Linked DNA regions of Homo sapiens: region 2 is linked to region 1. Evidence: promoter capture Hi-C in 16 types of primary human blood cells and fetal thymus (Javierre and others, 2016). All regions are on one chromosome and are shown on one strand. Each heading gives the region's core, a stretch centred on a gene start or on the middle of the fragment in contact. The rest is flanking DNA. Distances are from core to core; before and after follow the strand shown. Region 1 holds the start of BHLHE23 (basic helix-loop-helix family member e23). Region 2 holds the start of YTHDF1 (YTH N6-methyladenosine RNA binding protein F1).

What was found. The method cuts DNA at HindIII sites, captures the fragments that hold promoters and counts their contacts. A CHiCAGO score of 5 or more calls a contact.
Region 2: the fragment with the promoter of YTHDF1 here is called in contact with the fragment with the promoter of BHLHE23 in region 1 in 9 of 17 cell types (activated CD4 T cells, fetal thymus, endothelial precursors and 6 more); the score reaches 8.0 in activated CD4 T cells.

The regions. Positions count from the first base shown.
Region 1 is chr20:63,001,353-63,009,055 of GRCh38, reverse strand. It overlaps BHLHE23 (basic helix-loop-helix family member e23), which reads left to right and starts at 2,092. Exons shown (of 1, transcript NM_080606.4): 1 at 2,092-3,129. The coding sequence starts at 2,282. The coding sequence ends at 3,007. RefSeq lists enhancers at 39-108, 960-1,667, 1,668-2,373, 4,698-5,211. The HindIII fragment of the contact is 10,733 bases long and covers 1-6,864 here.
Region 2 is chr20:63,212,169-63,219,871 of GRCh38, reverse strand. It overlaps YTHDF1 (YTH N6-methyladenosine RNA binding protein F1), which reads left to right and starts at 3,741. Exons shown (of 5, transcript NM_017798.4): 1 at 3,741-4,006; 2 at 4,271-4,295; 3 at 5,929-6,008. The coding sequence starts at 3,980. RefSeq lists silencers at 3,389-3,668, 3,799-3,868. The HindIII fragment of the contact is 6,581 bases long and covers 1-5,875 here.

The sequences.
Region 1 (7,703 bases), core at 843-3,342:
AACTGGGCCTGGGAACTGGCCCAGAGCCCTGGCTCCCTGCTGGGGAGTTCGGACCTCCCAAAGCCCCGGCCCAGCCCCAACCCCAGCCCCATGGCGTCAGCGTCTCTGGCTTTAATGGGGACCCTGCTCCAGCCGATGCTTTGAAAGCCACTCTCACCCACACCCGTGATGTCAATTACCGCGTACCCCTCAGAGGCCTCCCCACCAGCGCTGGCTGCACCTCCCCTCGGGGGCCTCCTGCATTCTCCAGCTCCATAGCTTTCCCTCCTGGTCAACCCCATCCTCCTGCTCCCCCAGCTCCGGGGACCTGTGGAGCCACCTTCCCCCATGGCCCCCACCAGCCCTGCAGTTCAGGCCCAGGAGGAGGCCCCGCAGCCCCGGACCGCACCGGCAGCAGTGCCAGAGTGGCTCTCCGAATGGCCACGGCGCCTTTCTTCCCATAAAGACCAAACTCCCCGCGTGATTCAAACTGTCCCACAGGCCTGGTCCCGCCCCTCTATCTCCTGGCCCCACCCGGGCCCCTCACTGCCCTTCCCTGTGCCAGGCCTCCTCCGGCCACCTGAATGCTCCCCCGACCCCGGCCCGTGGCCACAATGACACCCACTCACCCTTCAGACCCAGGCCCAAACACAGCGGCCTCCTCCACACCAGGTATCCTCAATTCCCGGTCTGTGCATCAGCCCCGAAGGCGGGGTGGGGTCCCAGGACAGCGCCTCAGACAGACGCTTCCATCCTCGGGGCCCCTGCGCTCCTGGCGGGCGTGTGCTGGGGGTGAGGCCGGTGCTGCAGGACGCGCAGCCAGACAGGCCGCCAGCCCGGCAGAGGCTGCCTCAGACCCATTCCCCTCCGCCAGGACAAAGGCCTGAGTTTCCCACGGAGACTTATCCATGCATCTGTCTCCTCACACCCCGCACCTGGCAGGGAACCACCGGACAGGCCGGTCACTGCTGCGTTCCCAGAACCTTCCAGACAGCACATCCGCCCCACACACGTGCAGCTCCCACTCCCCTCCCGGGGCTGCGCACACTGCCCCATCGCTGTGGCTCCTCCTGGGGCGGAGCCTGGAGAACAGGGAGGGTATGCGGCCCTTCCCAGGTCACACAGAAGGGCCCGACGGGCCGCTCCACCTCGTGCCATAGGCCAGGGTGGCCCAGTCTCCCACCCAAGCCAGGACCGGAGAAGCCACTATCCCTCAGCACACTCTAGCCTCAGCACTCGGCCGGGCCTCCAGGCAGGTTCCCACCTGGGAGAAGGGCTGGGGTTCTGGCCTTCATGCGGGGTTGGAAGAGGACTGAAAAGGCGAGTCCGAGGCTGGCCACATTCCCATCCAGTGTGGCTGGACCCCAGGGGTTCGGAGGCTCCGGGAAAGCCCACCAAGCCTCACGCGTTTCGCTGATAGATGCCCAGGAAGCGGCTGGCAGGGAAGAGGCGGTCCTGCAGCTCACAGAGCTCCCCTCCCACCCCCGGGGAGCCCCAGGCCGCGCTGCCCTCCACCTTCCCGCCCTCCCCGGCCTGCAACGCTCGTGGCGTTTTTCAACAGGTTCTAGAAACTCCCTCTCACTCTGCCCCTCAAGCCTGGCCACAGGGCGCCCCGAGCAGGGAGTGTGCGGGCTCCGGGTACACGCTGCGCCGCGGCTGCACCAGAGCGCCCACGACCCTGACCCCGACCCGAAGCGGCCCCTCAGCGGGACAGGGTGTTGGCGCTGGCGCTGCTGCTATTGCGGCGCGCCCCCCCGCTCTGGCCCCTGCGTGTCGCCAGGGACTCTTGCGCTAGGGTCAGACTCAAAGACGGACCGAGGCGGGTGCCCACCTGGGACGCGTGCGTTTGGTGGCGGAATCCCCGGGGCGGCCGGAGGCGGCGGCCGGGGAGTCGAGAAGCAAGTACTAGCGCTCCAGGACCGCGCGCGCCGCCCCGCGCCGCCCCGCGCCGCCCCTCGGTCCAGAGCCCCCACCCCCGGCCTGTGAGCCTGCGGCGCTGGTGGAGCCCGGCTCCAGGAAGAGGAGCTCACCCGGTCCCCCCTGATTGGACAGCAGCGAGGTCCCACCGGGCGCCTCCGCGGCTTAAAACCGAAGCGGGGGCGAGGGGGAGGTAGAGCCCGCCCCCTGCGCGTCGCGGCTGGGAGGGAGAGGAGGTGGGAGAGAAGGAAGAGGCGGAGGAGGCAGCGGGCGCCGAGGCTCTGGGACCCGCAGGCAAGCCAGACCGACGCGCAGAGCCGGGAGCCTCATCGCAGCGGCAGCGGCAGCGGCGGGCTCGGGCCGGCCTCGGGGGCTGCTCACCCACATGAGCATCCGCCCACCCGGCGAGCCCCCGAGCCCAGGCGGCGCGGCCATGGCCGAGCTCAAGTCGCTGTCGGGGGACGCGTACCTGGCACTAAGCCACGGCTACGCGGCGGCGGCTGCGGGTCTCGCCTACGGGGCGGCGCGAGAACCCGAAGCGGCCCGCGGCTACGGCACTCCGGGCCCGGGCGGCGACCTCCCCGCGGCGCCTGCACCTCGCGCCCCAGCTCAGGCGGCGGAGAGCAGCGGCGAACAGAGCGGGGACGAGGACGACGCCTTCGAGCAGCGGCGGCGGCGGCGCGGGCCAGGGAGCGCGGCGGACGGGCGGCGGCGGCCGCGAGAGCAGCGGTCTCTGCGGCTCAGCATCAACGCGCGCGAGCGGCGGCGCATGCACGACCTAAACGACGCGCTGGACGGGCTGCGAGCCGTCATCCCCTACGCGCACAGCCCGTCGGTGCGCAAGCTCTCCAAGATCGCCACGCTGCTGCTCGCCAAGAACTATATCCTCATGCAGGCGCAGGCCCTGGACGAGATGCGGCGCCTGGTGGCCTTCCTCAACCAGGGCCAGGGCCTGGCCGCGCCCGTAAACGCCGCGCCCTTGACGCCCTTCGGCCAGGCCACTGTGTGCCCCTTCTCCGCAGGCGCCGCCCTGGGGCCCTGCCCTGACAAGTGCGCCGCCTTCTCCGGGACGCCCTCCGCGCTTTGCAAACACTGTCACGAGAAGCCGTGACCGCGCGGGCCCCCGGCCCTCCCGCACGCGTCCTCCGATCGCCCCTGTGACTGTCTCTCTGCCCGGACAGGAAAGGCCTGGAGGGACCCTGCAGACCAGGAGGAGGGGGCCCGACTTCGCTTCCAGCCTGTGCGCGGTGGACAGTTTAGCGCAGCGGGAAGCGCCAAGGCCGTCGGGGCGCGGGATTGAGCTCGAGAGCCGGACGCTGGACTCTGCGCCCGGGAACTCGCGGCACCCACTGGGTATTGTCGGGACCCAGCAAGTCTAGGAACGGGGGTGGGTAGAGCATCCTTCGGGCACTGCCGTTCGTCCCCAAAAGAAGACCACCGCGGGGTCCCAGGGCCACGGCGAGGACGGGCACTGGTCAGATTCCGGACAGGCGGTCCTGGCCCCGGGCGCACGAAAGGTGGAGACGAAGAAAAGCCGGACTTACTGGCTCCTGATCCTCTTGCAGTGGGCCTCGCGCTCCCGCTCCAGCCGGCCCTTCGTGCTAAACTGCAGGGCAGTGCTCTGTTCCTGAGGACGCGCGTGGCCGGCACCTCCCACCTCGGTGACTCCGAGACTCCGCAGCCCTGCGGAGAGCCCACGATGGCCGTCTGCAGAGGAGCTGGACCGCGGGCGCAGGAAGACCCCGGGGAAGGCCTTTTCCAAGTAGGAGTTTGTTCTATTTATTTGGGAATTGGACGCCGTCGCCGGCTGCCTCGAAGTCTGAGGAATTTGTCCCCTAAATGTCCCCTGGCCTCCCCCCCCCGCCGCCATCCGCTGCCTGGGACGTCCGCGGGGTGGAGTTGGATGGAGACCGCTTTGCGGGCCCTCTGCCTCGGGGGGCTGCGTGGAGGAGGGTCCTCACAGCCCGCGCCCTACTTAACCCTGACGGTCAGGGGAGGGCCCCGTCTAGCCCTGGTGTCCAGCAAACCCCCTCCCCACCGATCCCCTCTCCCTTCCGAGGGAGGAGGCCGGGCTACGGGTGAGTAAGCTGCTGCGGGCCCCGTGCCCCGCCGGGTGTGAACGGAGATGCGCTGCGCAGTGCCCGTCCTGCGCAGCTCCCAGCTCTGCCACCATCCGGGATCCAGGGAGCCGGGCAGGGTGCCCCCGGGGACCCATCTGTCCGCGCCGGTTTGCGCCCCGCGGCCCCGCCGCAGTATCCGGCTTTATTAACCCAATTTCCTCGGCTGTCGGTAATGCCAAGGGGAGAGGGCCGCCGCCCTGCAACGCGCCTGTCTACAGCGTTTAACTCTGATTAATACATTCCACAGGGCCTTCTGTACTTGCAAAATCAAGTGTATGGTTAAGTCTTATTCATAAAGACATATGCCTAATACTGGTTTCTGCTAATTTCCACTTTTATTTCTTCATTGTCTTTTTTTTTTCCCCTAACAGACTAGTTTATCAGTTTTGCACATTCGAAAAGCTGAGTGCCAGACACCGTTTTTCCCCTTTTAGATAAAGTGGGAAAGCTGGAAACTCAAATGCCCTTCACTTCTAGGGTCATTTCAACGTGATCTTAAATAAATTACCTGCTTATCAGAATTTGAAACAGGGGTGTTTATTCTGGTTAAAATCAGAGACATTGGTACATCATTTATATTCAGAATAAAGCATTTTATTGCCATTTATTTTATAAAAATAATATGGTTAAATTTTAATATCAAGTGAAATAGTGTTCATTTGTAGCTGAATTCACAATAATTTCAATTTTCAGATACTTGTGTCCACTCGAAACCAGAGTCTGAAGAGTCTCTGAGATGCTAAAACTCATCTAAAAGCAACCACTTATTATAGCACATGTGTGAAATCATAAGGAAAAGGGCAGAGGAAAAAAATCTCTCTTTCTCTCTTTGGGTGGAGAATAAGTTTTTGAAAAAACCACTTCACTAATCAAAAATTCTTCCGATTACTTAATTTAAATAAAAATTCAAGTTACATTTAAACTTTTTTGTACATGACAAAGCTGTGTGTCTACTGTTCTACAAACGTCTGCATGCTTCTCACTTGGCCTGAGTGGAGTGGAGTGTTTCGGAGAATTAGCTCGCCTTCTCTGCAGTGGCTGCTCGCGAAGCCACCTGGGCAATCACAGTGTCATCTGGCCTTTCTCAGATTTGCCCAAGGATCTTCTCATTCCAAGACAGCCCTCCACGGCCTGTGTGCCCACATCTGGCAAACAGCAAAGCAGAACCCACGTGGGTGCCTGTGCAAGCCCGTGGCTCCCGAGAAACGTGGGGGGCTGCTCGTCTTTTCTCTGACGGCTGTGCTCCTGCAGGTGTGTTGAGAATGGCTGGGGATCACCGGGAAAGAACTTCACCGTCACCACCCACCAGGAGCCACCCTTCCCCCAACACTCAGGGAGGAACCAAACACGAAAGAGCTTTGCTTCCAGCTGAGCTTTTCAAGACGCTCACTGTGTTGTTTTGTTTTGTTTTGTTTTTTAAGACAGAGTCTCGCTCCATCACGGAGGCTGGAGTGCAGTGGCACCATCTTGGCTTGGCTCACTGCAGCCTCTGCCTTCCGGATTTAAGCGATTCTTCTGCCTCAGCCTCCCTAGTAGGTGGGACTACAGATGTGCGCCACCACGCCTGGCTAATTTTTGTATTTTTTTGTAGAGATGGGGCTTCATCATGTTGGCCAGGCTGGTCTTGAACTCCTAACCTCAAGTGATCTGCCTGCCTCGGCCTCCCAAGTGCTGGGATTATAGGCTGAGCCACCACGTCTGGCTAAGATGCTCACCTTTAGATTCCTTCTAGGTAGAGATGTGCAGGCTGTGGGAGGTGGGAGGCAGCGTCCCCAGAACCGAGGTGTTCACACCACCCCGTGACCAGTGTTGCTGTAGGGAGAGAACGTGGTCATGTGTAGAATTTTACATTTTCAAGTGGCCATATTAAAAAAGGAAATAGAAGCAGATGAAATTATTTTTATTGATAACTTAATACTTATCCCAATACATCCAAAATATCATTTCAGTGTGTCATCCATATTTAAAGTTATTCGATATTTTACTTTCCTGGCACTAAGTCTTCAAGTTCCAGCATGTGTTTAAAGCCCAGCTCAGTTCATACCAGCCATGTTCCAATGCGTTTCAGTGCTCAGTGGCCACGCGTGGTTTGGCAGCCTCGGGTTTTGCAGCTCTCGGCCGTGAAAACACCAAGCACGCAAAGTACTCCTTGCTTCTTTCTCTTTGTTTAATAATAACCAGGAAATGCCTATGGACTTAAGGAGTCCATTCTAGAGCTGGGCAAATAGGAAATGTCCCATCCTTGTTTCTTTTCCAATCCTGATTCATCGAGCCTTTCTCCGGAGTGCGGGCTGGGGCTGGGGCTGTGGCTGGGGCCTGGGCCGGCAGCAGGAAAGGCAGAGGCTGTGCCCACTGAGTCACTGGGTCCACATGCCCCTCCAGCCTCACACGCGCCAACCACACCCAAGCCTAGGAAACGGGAGAAAGCGGATTACAAGGCCACAGAGTAAAGGTGTGGGCCCTGCTGGCTGCTGCTTGAGCGACTCACAGATCAAGACCTGTTCTTTTTTTTTTTTTTTTTGAGACGGAGTCTCACTCCGTTGCCCAGGCTGAAGTGCAGTGGTGCGATATCTGCTCGCTGCAACTTCTGCCTCCTGGGTTCAAGCTGTTCTTCTGCCTCAGCCTCCTGAGTAACTGAGATTATAGACGAGCGCCACCACGCTCAGCTAATTTGTTTTTCGTAGAGACGGTGTTTTCCTATGTTGCCCAGGCTGGTCTTGAACTCCTGAGTGATCCACTTGCCTCAGCCTCCCAAAGTGCTGGGATTACAGGCGTGAACCACCACGTCTGGCCAAGACCCATTCTCTTGATGGCTTGGCCTCTCTTTGGAAACGAGTTTTGTGAAGCTTAGTTTGTGGGAGCTTGGGGCAGGCTTCTCCGAGCCCAGTGGCTCTGTAAGGGTCCCTCGTGCGGTCAGGAGATGCAGGTTGCCTGACCTAGGTCCCACTCTTGTCTTCATGCACTGATGGCCATGCCTGCTTCCTTGCTCCCCAGGGACTCTCCAGCTTGCTGGGTAAAAATAGAGGGCCCAGCAGGTTAGAAAACAAATGTGGGGTTCACAAGGCCTCTCCTTTTTTCTTTTTTCTTTTCTTTTTTTTTTTTTTTTGAGACAGAGTCTTGCTCTATCGCCCAGGCTGGAGTGCAGTGGCGCGATCTCGGCTCACTGCAACCTCCACCTCCCAGGTTCAAGCAATTCTCCTGCCTCAGCATCCTGAGTAGCTGAGATTACAGGCGCCCGCCACCACGCCCAGCTAATTTTTTTGTATTTTTAGTAGAGACGGGGTTTCACCATGTTGGTCAGGCTGGTCTCGAACCCCTGACCTCATGATCCACCCACCTCGGCCTCCCAAAGTGCTGGGATTATAGGCGTGAGCCACCGTGCCTGGCCTTTCATTTCTTAAAGAGACAGACACTTCTCCTGCATCTCCACGCGTTTGGATGCCCTGTGGTCAGCGTACCTCAGACAAGGCAGCCCTTAACACGCACTTTCCTGCCTGAAACCAAGCTGCCAAGGACTTTCCCACCCCTGGGTGAGGCACTGTGGCCCGAGCACTTTTGGTTCCGCTGGTGCCTGGTATATGTTACAAAGAGCTTTGCTTCCCCCAGTTAAGAAATTCACTCACCTACAACTGCATCCCCGGTTTTCAGTAACAGGCGCTCGGCCTCCTATGTCAGGGCAAAACTGCC
Region 2 (7,703 bases), core at 2,492-4,991, 210 kb before region 1:
CAGCTCAGAAACCTCCTCTTGGCTGGGGGTTTTGGTACAGCCTCCTTGGGGGCCATCTGGCAACATCAGCACAATGGCCAGTGTAAGCGCCTTTGGCCCAGTGATTCCATGGGCAGGAGCCTCCTGCCAGGTGTCTTCGCACACGTGTGCATGTGTGTTGGGGCCAGGACACTCACTGGATGAGGCTGGAGCCCATGCCCTCCCTGGAGAGGGACGAGGTGGGTGGACGGCGGGTGTTGATACTCAGCAGCACTGTGGATCCCCAAAGTGCGGTTTCCCAACACGTGAGATGCAAGGGCAGATAGTGGAGACAGAGACTCATGCTTGCATGCACAGGCAGGCATCTGGAGGGCTCCCTCTCTGAGGGGTTTGGGGGTGGTGGTTTTTGCTTCCCACCTTATATCCTTTGAGTGCAAAGATAGCTTTTTAACCATGCGCCTGTGTGACTTTCAAATAAATAAAAACCCAAACCTTCCTAATGCTAGTCATGTTTAGACAATCCCATACCACTTGAGGGTGCTGCCAGGAGCGGGTACTGCTAGGAAGGGCTCTTGGATGAGCAACAGGTTCCCCGAGCAAGAAGGTTCCCGTCTGAAGGCAGACGGCCCACAGGGGATGGGCTCTTGTCTGTCATTGACGGCACAGGCTTAGAAATGGCAGGCTTTGTCTCAAGACCGCTGGGCCACCCAGAGGAGTGGCCAAAGCCCTCTGATCCGTTTCCATCCATGACATGAGGAGCTGCCTGCTCCCTGTGAGGGAGAGACAGTTGTCCCCTGACATTCGGTGCTGGGTGACCTCCCTTTTCCTGGCCGAGAGCTGGGCTGGGGTGTGAACCTGGGCAGGCTGGGCAGTGGACGTGGCCCTCCAAGGTTACAGGCAGCTCAACTCCTGGTTTTCTGTGACACCCTCCCAGGTCCTCAGGCCTGGCCAAGATAAAGGCTTTCCCCCCAGAGCTGGCCTGGGGACCTCAGCACCCCCTGCTGGTGCCACACCCCCTGCATTCAATTCACTTTAGGGCCCCCTGTTCCCGCCAACCAGACCTGTCCTGCCCCTGGGCAGCCCCCAGTCTCCTTCCATGTCAGGGTCAGCATGGAGCCTTCTGGAGTTCACAGCAAAAGCCTGGGTGGGTCCGGGCAGTGGCTGTGGGATCCTGCCAGCCTCTTCCCTGGCCAGTGGGGCTAGGCTGGCATGGTGGTGCCTCCTCAGGCCTCACTGTGGGGGCCTCTCCTTCCATCTACATTTGTGAGTAGAACCTACTCAGCCCCAGGAGTCACCCTCCAAAATCTCTCCATAGGCATCACTGTGAGGCCTCCCCAGTGATCTCTGTAGTGAGCTGAAGAGTGTACCCCCAAAACTCATGTCCACCTGGTACCTGCGTGACTTTATTTAGAAATAGGTTCTTTGCAGATATAATCACAAGACGATGAGGTTATCCTGGATTAGGGTGGGCTCTAAATCCAGATGAGTGTCCTTATAAGAAGAGACACAGGCACAGAGGAAAAGGCCATGAGGTGACGGAGGCGAGGAGGAAAGACCAGGAAGGGCTGCGGCCTCCACCGGAGGCTGGAGGAGGCTAGGATCCTCCCCGAGGGCCCTGGAAGGAGCTTCTGTCTCCACTTCAGCCCAGCAATACTGATCTGAGACTTCTGGCCTCCAGAACTGGGAGAGAATAAATTGCCGTTATTTTAAGCCCCCCAGTTCCGGGTACTTTGTTGAGATAGCTCCAGGAAACTGAAACACCTCCAGGGTCCTGCATTGCCGGCACTCAGCCATCTAAGAAGGCCCCTAAGCTCGGAGTGGCCACTTCCCGCAGGGCCAGTGCTGCCTCCTGTGACTGGCTGGGCATTTGTGGGTGAAGGCAGCAGGTAACAGCCAGTGTTGACAGAGCCCTGGCCTGACGCCAAGGGCTGCATACCCAGTTTCTTCCACACACTCATCCTGTGAAAGGGGAGTAATTAACCCACCACGGAGGAGGAAAGTAGGCCTGAGGCTGAAGGCCCTGTAACTGGCTGTGAGGCTCTGAACTCCAGTGGTGACCACTGCACCGTCCTGGCCCAGGGATGGGAGCTGGGTGAGAAGACAGACAGGGGCTCCAAGAGTCCGAGTGTCTACTCTGACCACCCAGACACCCCCTTGCTGCAGTCTTGGCCGCCAAACAGTTCAGTGTCCTGGGAAGCAGGCACTCAGGGCCTGCCCAGGATGCGCAGGCCTTATCACACAGAAGCAGGTGGCAGGGTGCCCCCAGGGACCCCACTGTCCCTACAATCCCCACACATCTTCTCCATGTGGGCCACCATCCTGGAAACGTGCTGTTCATTTTCGGATGTACCCCAAATGCACAGATTTCATCCTGGCCTGAGATGTCTGCCCATGGCCCAAACACATCAAAGTCCCAGGGGATCCAGATTCATCCTCAGGGCACCAGACATCCCCCAGCTCTGTTCCAGGGAAACAAGCCCAGCCCGCTTTCCCCAGCTTTAGGCGAGGCAGGGCTCCAGGGAGACCTGGAGCAACTTGGAGCAGCAGTCCTCTCTGTGGCTGACCGGCCTGCTGGGGGCAGTTTCCACCTCCTCCTGCAGCAGTGTGAGAGGCTGTCTGCTACCCCACTGATGCGGATGTCCAGGCTTGGAGCCGTCTTGGGACTCCATTGCCGTCCCTGCTGTCACTGTTCACCCTGCTTAGCGCATCTGCCCGGGCCCACTTTGTGGAAAACACTCATTTGACGTCAACCTGCCTGACACCCCATTCCAGGTCTTTCTCCTTTAGCAGGACCCAGATCCAGGCCACGTGAAGATGTTACAGCTGCCAGAGCTGGAAAGAAAAATATCAACCTGGAAGCCTCTGTAGGGAGTTAGCCACAAGGGTGGCAGGATTGGATACTGGCTGCAGGGAGCGAAATTCAACACCTTGACCAGAAGGGCGTCCAGGTTGGGGATGCTGAGGGGTTAGGAACTGAGAACTGGGCTCTCTTTGCACAGTTGCTGCTAAGAAGGGGCTGTCCATCCTCGAACAAAGATGACAAGTCCCCTGGCCCGGCCTAGGCTGGGGCACAGAGCACTGCTTTTCCTCCTGGTGATGAAATCGGGGTCAAGAATCTAACATGAGAACTTGGTTATAAGCCGGCGAGCCTCTCGCAGGTCCAGGGGTGCATCCACACAACAGCTGACCTCCGGGACCGGGCCCAGGGCTCCGCTGCGGCTGAAGGCCAGGGCCGCAAAGCGAACAAAGCCCGCAGGTCCCGCGGCAAGGGCCGAGGCGCGCGACCTGGAACACGCGGGGGCTCGGAGCTCTGGGCGGGCAGGTGTTTGCGCGCGGGGGAAGGGCAGACCGACCCCGGACAGACCCGTAGCCCAGCTGTCGGACCAGAACAGCGTTTAGTCTTCGGACCTTGGGGAAAACTACAGAGGCCTCAGTGCCGGTAGCGCGTCGGGGGTGCGGCTGTGGCCGGGGTGTGTGTGGGCGGCTGTACACCTGGCAGCAGCCCGCCAGCCCCTTCCCGCCAGGCCCCGCGGCGCCTCCGGACACGCCCCACGTGACTTCCCCGGCTCAGGGCTTCCCCGCCCAGCCGGCTGCGGTCCCCGCCCCGCCGCACGAGACTGGGACCTGAGAGCGAAATCCATCCCGTAAGACGGGAGCGCGCAGGCGCGAAGTGTGGCGGCCCGGCGCGGCGCTCCCGGCCTGCCCCGCGTGCACGCTGACGCCGCGCAGTCTCGTCCCCTGCCGCCGCCGTCGCCGCTGCTGTCGCCGCCGCCGCCGCCATTGGAGTCGACGCCTCCTCAGTGCGTCCGCGTCCCGGGCTCACCGCCGCTGCCGCCTCGCCAGGGGCCCGCGCGCCCAGCAGCCGCCGCCGCCGCCCGGCCGGCGCCCGGGGAATTGGCGGCGGGGCCCGGGGCCGCGCGAGCTAGGGTGACAGGCCCGGCCTCTAGGGGAGGCCCGAGCCGGCGGGCGCCCCGGCCCCGCGTCTAGTTGTTCATGAAGCATGTCGGCCACCAGCGTGGACACCCAGGTAGCGGGGCCGGGTTACAGGGGCCGCGGCCGGGGCCGAGGCGCGGGGTCTGGGTTGAGGTCCTGGGGCTGGAACGCAGAGCCCGGGGTCGCGGAGGCCGGGCCCAGGCGGGACCGGGGTCTCGGGGCCGGGGTCGCACGTGACCGCGCGTCGGGGCCGGCGGAGCTCGCGGCCCGTTGGAGACCAGTTCTCTGGTGAATAACTTTGTGTTTCCCTCTTCCCCCGGGTTGTGTGTACCCCACGTCCCGGCCTGCGGCGGTGCAGAGAACAAAAGGACAAGATAATAAAGGTGAGCGGAGTCCCGGGACGGCCGGCGCGGGCTGGAGTGGAGGAGGACGGGGAAGGAACGGTCCAGGAAGCTGCGTCTGGAACCGGAAACTTTCTCTCTTCCGCCAGCTTCAGGGAGATAAAACTTGAGGTTGTGCGACGATTCTGGGAGATTTGACAGGTCGAAGACAGGGGCTTCTCAAGAAGTGAATAAATGATTGCTCAGAGTAGTTTGGGCCCGTCTCTCCCCACCGCATGATCATGGATTTGCTTTGGGGAAGGGGAGGTAGGAGAGCCGGGTGGACATGGCCGCAGGGGTTGAGCGACTTGCCTTTTTCCGCCCAGCAGGGGCTGCTCTAGGAGAGGGGCAGTCCAAGGTTCTGCAGGCTAAGCTCCACATCCCCGGTAGTTGCAGCCCGTTTTCCAAGTCTGTTAGCATCTCCTGTGACATTATGGCTTGGGATAAACCCTCAGAGCGCACTCATGTGAAAACTGTTAAGTGACACTTCACGTTTACTTGGAACACTTTTTTAGCCAGTTTGTGTGTCAGCTCAGGTGTAACCAAATACGGTTCATCGTGTTTTAAGATTGGAAAAGGCCCAGCACTTTATTTACCTTTGCTTGCTTTTTCTGGCTGAGCATAATAACAGTGGGAAGGTAAGTGGTGTAAAAGGAAAACCAGTCTTGGGGCACCCAAATCACTGAGCCAAAGGGAGAAAGCTACGCTGAGAACTGCTGAGGGCAAACCTGCCTCCCATTCTATTCCTGAAAAAGATAGCTTCTAAGACAAAAAAAGTTACATACTTCCCCCACAGTTTGCCCACAAGGAAATTCCTGGTGGACAAAGGACAGAACTCAGAGTCATTCCTGCTCACTGAGATAAATGCTTATCTGATTGCTTCCTTTGGAAAGGCTAATCAGAAACTCGAAAGAATGCAGCCGTTTGTCTCTTATCTACCTATGACCTGGAAGCCCCCTCCCTGCTTCAAGTTGTCCCGCCTCTCCGGACCAAACCAATGTACATCTTACATTGATGGTTCTCATGTCTCCCTAAAATGTATAAAACTAAGCTGTCCCCCGACTACCTTGGGCACATGTTGTCAAGACCTCCTGAGGTTGTATCATGGGTGTGTCCTTAACCTTGGCAAAATAAATTTTCTAAATTAACTGAGACCTGTCTCAGATATTTGGGGTTCACTGTGGAGAGTCAGATAATAGCTCCCAACAGTCCTTCAGTTGCAGCCCCTTCCCTCCTAAGTTTTCTTCCCTCCGTTCTCCATACGTTTGGGCATACATTCTGCATTTGGGCTTTTGGAGGCTCCACTTCTTTTTGCCACACATAAGTCTTCTTAGACCATGTCAGTTTTCACCCTGGTTATGTGTTCCTTGCATTATGTGTTAACACTTGATTTGGTTAATCTCACCAAATTACGATTAAGCCTTTATTTAAAATTTATCCTAAATTATTGAAAGTTTCCCGTCCCCCTTCTAATTAGTTGTATAAACATCAGTTCTATACTGGTTGTACTCCTTTTAAAATTAAAGCATAATTTCTGCTAGAAATAGATGGAAATAGACTTTGCTAACTTTGCCTTCCAAGCTTAAAAGTAATCTTTTAAAATTTGAGGGTAATATTTTGCAACTTTTTGTTCTAGTACAAAATGGTTCGTTACATCAGAAGGATACAGTTCATGACAATGACTTTGAGCCCTACCTTACTGGACAGTCAAATCAGGTGAGTTTATTTTGTTAGCATATATTTGTTTTTAAGTTGGTTTTAATTGTTTTGTACCTTTACTGTCATTTCTGATTTTTAAATTATCCTAAACAACAAAGCAGCAGACTATAAAGTATTAGGAATGATAGACTGCTCATGAAGATGTGACTCCTGTTAACCTTGGGCATCAGTGGGGTGAAAATGATTTTCCCTGTGGAGGAGGCGGCATCCCACTGGGGCTGGGATGCAAACAGGTCTAGTTGGCTCTAGTGTTTGTGGGTCAGTGGTGTGTCTTGCCTTTGACGCAGTGGAGGTGTGTGTGTGTTTCTGAAGCTTCCTGGTTATTCTTAGCTCTGGATGATTGGAATTGTGGTCTGGGGAGGCAGCTAAGAGCTGGGCTGTGGAGCGACTGTGGAGCCAGAGGCCGCCTGGGTTTCAGTCCTTTTTTTGAGACAGCGTCTCACTCTTGCCACCCAGGCTGGAGCGCAATGGCGTGATCTCAGCCTGCTGCAGCCTCTGCCTCCCGGGTTCAAGCATTCCTCCTGCCTCAGCCTCGGGAGTAGCTGGAATTGCAGGCACCCACTACCACGTCTAGCTAATTTTTGTATTTTTAGTAGAGACGGGGTTTCACCATGTTGGCCAGGCTGGTCTCAAACTCCTGACCTCAGGTGATCCACCCGCCTCGGCCTCCCAGAGTGCTGGGATTATAGGCGTGAGGCACCGCGCCCAGCCTGGTTTCAATTTTAACTCCACCACTGACTGGCCTGTGTCCATGGCTTGCCTTCTCTTGCCTCAATTTCCTTTTCTGTAGAAGAGAGAGAGTAGTAACTGTTTGTAGAATTGTTGGGAGGATGACATCAGATGGTGCACATAAAGCGCTGAGACAGTACCTGATACAGCAGGGCCCAGTGAGTCATAGCTGCCCTGTTTTCTTAGGTAATTCAGGCTTTCTCTGCCTTGGCACTGTGGACATTTTGCACGGGAACATTCTGTTTTGGGGGCTGTCCTGTGCATTGTTGGATGTTTAGCAGCCTCCCTGGCTTCCCACCCACTAGATGCCATTAGCAACTCCTTCTCCCCATCCCCAGTTGTAGCAAGCAAAACTGTCTTGGTGGATGTTTTTTGGGGGATACAGTTGCCCTGGTTAAAATCTACTGGGAGCTGCTCTCTCTCCTCTGTGCTGCTGTTGCAGCAAAACTCCCAAGAGAAGCGGTATCTGTTTATGTCTAAGAGTCCAACTCGGGAATCAGACTTCCCCTGCCTCACTTTCCTACCTCCAGGCCGTTGGCTTGGATGAGGGGCTGCACCTCTGTGAGCTCCTCACTTTGGTGAGCAGGCCTCATGGGGCAGCACAAAGCAGATGCTCTGAGTGCTCCATTTCGTGTGCTGTGATTCACATTCCTTCCTCCGCCACTCCAAGTAGCCCTCAGCTACTGGGCATGTTTACTTTAAAGTAAAACCAGGCTTCACCTCTTCTCTGTGAAGGAATAAAACTAGTCTGCCCTTTTCTGAGGTGTCTTAGAACTTCTTAGAATGTTCCTTCATCCCCCTCCCTCCTACTGCACTTGGCGAATCAAGCAGCTTAGAGACCAAGAAACCTTGTACAGGTGGAGCCTCGGCAGCGCTGCCCCGCGCTCCGACCCTGCTTCTGTTTCTTGTCTCTTGGTTGCCTTCTGAGAATCTGCCCTTCCTCTGGGCAGAACTGACTTGACT